Linked DNA regions of Homo sapiens: region 2 is linked to region 1. Evidence: promoter capture Hi-C in 16 types of primary human blood cells and fetal thymus (Javierre and others, 2016). All regions are on one chromosome and are shown on one strand. The core of a region is centred on a gene start or on the middle of the fragment in contact, and the rest is flanking DNA. Distances in the headings are between cores, read along the strand shown.

Region 1 (3,374 bases), core at 494-2,993:
ATTCTAGTGTATCCATATAATAGAAAATAAAGTAGCCATCAGAAATAATATAGATTGGGAGTCTGCAAACTTTTCCTGCAAAGAACCACATAATAAATATTTCAGGCTTTGTGGGCCAGCTGGAGGATCCCTTGAACCCAGGAGTTCGAGACTGCAGTGAGCTATAACTGCACCACTGCACTCCAGCCTGGGTGAGACAGTGAGAGCCTGTCTCTTTAAAACAAACAAATACAGTATCTGCAAAGTGCAATAAAATGATGCACAATAAAATGAGGTATGCCTACATTATCATTAATGTTGACGCGAATATCTTCAAACAAGAGGGAAGAAAGTGCATTTGTCTATAAAAGGGCAACACAACAGATCCTCGAGGTGATGGAAATGATCTATCTTGACTATCAATGTCAACATCCTGGTTGTCATATTATACTACAGTCCTGCAAGATGTTGTCATTGGAGAAGACTAAGTTGAAGATAACACACAATGTCTCTATTATTTCTTACAACCTCATATGAATCTACAATCATCTCAAATTTAAAAAAAAATTTAAGGAAGTTTTAAGAATTTCATTTTCAAATATTTGCTAGATGAATTAAGTTTTTACCCCCTTCAAATCTTGAAGGCAAATTAATGCTCCAGGTTGTACTGTTCAATAGGAAGACTATTAGCCATATATAGCTGTTTACATTTAGATTTATTAAAATTGAACACAATTTAAAAAATTCGTTCCTCAGTCAAACCAGCCACATTTCAATTTCTCAATAGCCATATGTAGCTAGTGGCTACTATATTGGAGAGCACAGATATAAAAAATGGAACTCAGTTTTGCAGAAATTCCTATTAAAAAGCATTGTTCCAAAGCGTTACACGACTGACACCCTCACTTTACAGGTGAGAAAACTGAAGCCAGGAGATATCACTATAATACAGCGCTGCACACAATCGTGCTCATTCTCACCATATTATGCTCACACACTTCTTTCCCCACATTCACTGCCACAGGCGAACTCTCAATGAATCATTCACTACATTTATATAATTTCATGGGAATCTATTTTAAATTCATGACCATGCAAAGAAAAATCAATTTCTTACAGGTTATAAGATACTCAGTCGCAGGCTGAATCTGATTAAACAGACATCAGTCACCCTCAAAGCTATAATCAAACCATTCCCAAGACCCTTCCGCACACAATACTAAATGCGCCACTAATAGCCTCAAGCATAATCTGACGCACATCACACAGGCATGGCCACTACCCACTCTGCACCCACAGAGGACACTCGGACACGCGCGCGCACAGACCCACACACACACGCACACACACACACATGGCCGCAAAGAATGCGTCACACTTCCGAACCCCGTTGAGCAGCAACCCGGTATCGTGGCCACTGCGTCACGGCCAGAGCTGTCAGAGAGAAATCCAGACCTTACCTGACAGCCTTTTGCAGCTCTTCTAGCCCGGGATGACATTCCCCTGAAGGCACCACGGCAAGACTCAACCTCTTTGTGTGAGATTCTCTGGAATTTCTGGGGCGTTACTTGAGTATAATGAAATAGGGTAGGCTCGGACCATAGTAGGGTAAGTCCCACAGTTCGAGCAAGGGAGCCTCAGGGATCGTTCTGTTCTGGAGCGCCGGACCCGATCTTAGCTGCTGGGCCTGCGCAGACACGATCCGGCCGGTTTCCAGTTGTAGACTACATTTCCCGAAGGCCCCCGCGTCGCTGCGCAACGTCGTACACTTACGCTGTTATGTCTTGACGCACGGAGCTTGTCTGCGCCGGCCAGGTGAGTGGGCGGCCTCACCGGGAACCGCTCGCAGCTTTTGGGTTGCTTCATCGAAAAAGTAGTTCTTGTATGGTGCTGGGAATACCGGTGTCCTGGCTGGGGCTCGGTGCTGACAGGAACGGGACGGTGCTCTGGCTAATTACTTATGGAAGTCGGCCTTGCGCTTGCGGAGGGGTGTCGGCACCGTCACTTTGGTTCTGGCAGTGGCGGGGGTGTGGTGCTGCTAGTTGTGTTCCTCCGCACCGAATTTATGAGTGTGCCCCTGGAGCCCCTGCCGCGGACAAAATCGGCACCATAACTTTGGGATAGGGAGGCTAGAAGGAGGCGGGTGTTACTAGTAGTGTTCCTCCGCCCTGGACGTGTGCGTGTGCGCTTGTGCGGCCGCGGGGTGGGCTCACCTGCCGCCTGTTAATGCTCCTAGCGCTTGGCCCCTCCCGGGCCGCAGTACTCCTCGTGTGACACGGACATCATTAAGCCAGCTGAGAATCGTGCGGTTACAGCTGCTGCAGTTTCTTTGCAGAGTAAGAGGCTCTTTTTGAAGTTTCCCTGATGGTGAGGCTTTACCCCTGGAAGTGTCTTAGGAAGAAGACCACTGTTAAAGATGTCCTATTCTAGCTTGACAGCCCTGTGGGGAAGACTAATCCCTTTCTAGAGGTTGGTGTTATCCTAAATTGTTTCGTCTGCTCCGAGAGCTCTGATGTTCTATGATGCTTATTTCTTTTCTCGGTTCTGCGTTTTCCAAGAGAGGCACCCAGAGGAAAAGAATATCGCACTTCTGAAAGTCTTGTGTGAAGTTCCTGTTTTCTTTCTAACCTCAAATTTCTTCCTTTCCGAAACGTTTTCTACCTCCAGCAACATCTTCCTAAGGAAGAACCAGCCATGCTAGTGACTGGTCCTTAGGCACCCCATAAATGATGCTGCGGGGATGGGATCATCAGTTTAGCTCTACTCCCCAGCCACACTACACCTCTCCTTTCCACCCAATGATACAGCAGTCCTTTCTGGTCTAAGATTTTTTTGTTTGTTTGTTTGCTTTTTGAGACGGATTCTCGCTGTGTCGCCCTGGCTGGAGTGCGGTGGTGCGGTCTCGGCTCACTGCAAGCTCCGCCTTCCGGGTTCACGCCATTCTCCTGCCTAAGCCTCCCGAGTAGCTGGGACTACAGGCGCCCGCCACCATGCCCGGCTAATTTTTTGTGTTTTTAGTAGAGACGAGGTTTCACCGTGTTAGCCAGGATGGTCTCGATCTCCTGACCTCGTGATCCACCCGCCTGGGCCTCCCAGAGTGCTGGGATTACAGGCGTGAGCCACCGCGCCTGGCCTGGTCTAAGGTTTTGATGAAAAATAACTGTACTTTCTGGGGGAAATTTGAAGAGTTTTAAAATTTTAACTTTATTGTGGATGTTTTCAAGCAGGCTAAAGAATAATACGAACCCCAACATGTTCAACACCTAGCTGTAATTAAAAACATTTGTAAATACCTTTGTATCAATCCTTCCCCGTTTTTTCCTATAGTATTTCAAAATTGTATTTTATCCTCTTATAAGCATATATTACCAAAAAGGACATTATATTTTAAAATA
Region 2 (2,983 bases), core at 82-2,581, 6.2 Mb before region 1:
TAATTATGACTACAGAAAAGATAAAAAATAATGTTTATATAACACCACCTAATTACTAATCTCTTCAAATAATCATAGTATAAAATAATGCTCTAATAGCAATCTACAAGAGGTGCCTTTCTATAACTCTTCAGTGCATCATAATGCACTGAAGTATTTGAACAATTTGCCATATGAACAGGTGGGTAAGAATTGTGGAGAAGAACAATAGGGGGCCACTGGGAGGAAATATGTACCAGCATGGCGGGTCATGTAACTGGGAAAACCCAGTCAAGATATTTCAGGCCAAGGAAAGAAAATGTTCTCATGACCTAGAAGCAAAGGTAATTGTATGTGTATGTATTTAAAAAGTATGTATAAAAAACCTCACCTGAACCTTGATTTCTAAACATGCAAAAATCCTTTTCTCCTCTTCAAACTCCTTCTTAGAAATCTGGCAACCTGGCAGCACTGGGGGAAAAAACAGTAACATGAGACATCAGCATTTCTAGCGCGTCACAGACTTAATTAAAAAAGAAAAAGAAGAGCAAAACACCCTCTGGGGCCACTTCTGCCTTCATCCACACAAAACCAAACGGAATGAAAAGGGAGGCTAGAGTCTGTCTCTGTGTTGAGGGCAATTCTTGGGGACAGAGGTCTGCTTGCAATGGCTCTGAAACATGTAGCTCACCACCAAAGAGCTCCTAGAGGCCCCTCTTCTAGGAATCCCACCTCTAGAACTTCCCCATCAGGTCTTGACAAGATCCTGTCCCGCGGACACTTCCAGATCTAAAATTCTCATCCTTCTTGCTTGAAACGTTCATTATGGGGCTTAGCATAGACTTCTTTCTTGCGGTCATTTAATTGTGGCAGGCCCGAAGACAGGCTAAAGGGAACCTAGAGCATTTGGTCAAAGCAAATCACATTTACAAATACGGCCACGCACCCTGTCAGCCCGTCACACATTCACAACTGCACCCACCTCCGTGGGGACACGCCCCGTCCCTGCCACGCCGTCTGAGACACACTGTCCCTCGGCTGCTCGCGTGCACACAGGCTTGAGGATCCGGACACGACACGCTCTGTCCGTGACCCAGCCCTCCCCACCTCCAGCACCCCCGATGCCACCCCCACCCTCACTGCCGGTTCCAGTCGGGCCCCAGTAAAGCCAGCCGAGCCCTCCCAGCTTCACCCGGGCTGATTACTTCTACAGACACGACCAACTCACCATGCAGAGTCCAAGAACCTTAAGGACACCGGAAAAGGACCCAGAGACCTGTGGTTAGTTTGGACCCAGAGGCTGATGGGAAACAAGAGCCTGGAAATGCTCGCAGGCTGGGAGAGGAGCTTCTGGCAGGCAAGCTCGCCCCGCCCCTAAAAGGCCTGTGCCCCGGAGACTTCTGGGAAATGTAGTCCACAGCGGCAGAGTCTCCGGAAGTTGAAACCTGGACAGCAGGGATGCTCCCAGCATGCAACTTGGCTTCACCTGTCAAAGGCGCTTTTTTCGAAGACGCCCGGGAGCTCTTGCTTTTGCTTGAGGGTCTTTGGTGTTGACTGAGAGCGAATTAAAAGGTTCTCAGCTTTCGCTAAGGAACGCATTCTGGAGTCTAGAACAGGCGAAGATGGGACTGGGGTGTCTGGGGACTTAGACGTGAGCGAGCAAGGGAATCCGGGGTAAGTTCGCTGGAAATGACCTGCGCGACACTACCAGTTTACCTGGGTATGAGCGCCTGGAACAGTGTCTGGCAATTGAACAGATGGGTGTGTCTTGCTGTGAGGGAGTTTCTTAGTTCGATTCGGTGTCTGGGACCCTGCGTGGACCTGTTTATGTTCATGGGATGTTTTCTAAATTTATGCCTGTGTGAGTCTGTTTTATTAGGTGTGAGATGAACTGTGTTACAGATTTTATATGCCGCTGTTGAAAGACAACAATAAGTGGTAGTGAGTGGATATTGTGACCGTGGAGACTTATGGCAGTGCAAAGGCGGCCATAAACAATGCACAAGCAATCCAGCATGGCTGTGTTCCAATAAAACTTGATGGATTATAAAATTTGAATCTCATTTTTTATAGAGTATGAAACCATTTATTCTGAAGCACACACTCATACTCCAAAAACAATACTATATATTCCCTCTCTCTCTCTCCTGTGTGTTTGCGTGTGTGTGTGTGTGGGTGTGTGAGAGAGAGAAAGGTTTTAAAGGAGACAACTAACTGATTCTGAGGTTAGGGCAAAAAGATTGGGGCTGTGGTTGGTGTGGTAAGAACCTTTGGATATAAATACTTTTTTAAAAAAGAATTGTCTAAAAATATTAAAGCGAAATTTTATATTAAAACTAACAGAAAGAAAAGGAAGTTACTTTTTAGGGGCTCTTTCTGGTCACTGATATCACCTCTCTCATCCTCTGCCATCTCTCACCTCCTGGTCTCTCTTGCTTATCAAGAGAAGACTAGAGCTCTTGGATCCCAGCTTTTCCCCTGCCTCAGCTGAGGCCACTACCCTGGTTGACTCCCATGGTGACATGGATGCCTCATCCAGTATCGTGGGTCTGAGTCCTCATCTGCAGGGTCCTTGAGCTTTCCTCGGCACCCATCCCCGTTTCCCATCTGGGACTTCATTATCATCAGCATCTGCTCCACCTCCAAAACCACTGGTGGAAGCAGCCTCCTCTCTTCCCATGTTACTTGCTCAATGACTCCCACAAGTACTACTCTGAATATTTTGGGGGTCTGATTTTTTTTTAATTTTTTATTTCCATAGGTTTTTGGGAAACAGGTGGTGTTTGGTTACATGAGTAACTTCTTCAGTGGTGATTTGTGAGATTTTGGTGCACCCATCACCTGAACAGTGTACATGGCACCCAATTTTTAGTCTTTTATCCCTCACCCCCTTTCCACCCTTTCCCCCAAGTCCCCAAAGTCCACTGTGTCATTCTTAGGCCTTTGCATCCTCACACCTTAGCTCCCACTTATGAGTGAGAATATACGATGTTTGATTTTCCAT

The links. Contacts are between HindIII fragments. The CHiCAGO score rates a contact against its expected background, and 5 or more counts as called.
Region 2: the fragment with the promoter of ZNF283 here is called in contact with the fragment with the promoter of ZNF571 in region 1 in 1 of 17 cell types (total B cells); the score reaches 10.5 in total B cells.

What each region holds. Positions count from the first base shown.
Region 1 is chr19:37,593,161-37,596,534 of GRCh38, reverse strand. It overlaps ZNF571 (zinc finger protein 571), which reads left to right and starts at 1,743. Exons shown (of 4, transcript NM_016536.5): 1 at 1,743-1,794. ZNF540 (zinc finger protein 540) reads right to left here and starts at 1,659. Exons shown (of 5, transcript NM_001172225.3): 1 at 1,440-1,659. RefSeq lists enhancers at 1,182-1,231, 1,462-1,581, 1,622-1,821, 1,418-2,100, 2,052-2,101 and 2 more. The HindIII fragment of the contact is 14,201 bases long and covers 1-3,374 here.
Region 2 is chr19:43,825,669-43,828,651 of GRCh38, reverse strand. It overlaps ZNF283 (zinc finger protein 283), which reads right to left and starts at 1,331. Exons shown (of 7, transcript NM_181845.2): 1 at 1,208-1,331; 2 at 371-450. RefSeq lists an enhancer at 1,274-1,473. The HindIII fragment of the contact is 6,325 bases long and covers 1-2,983 here.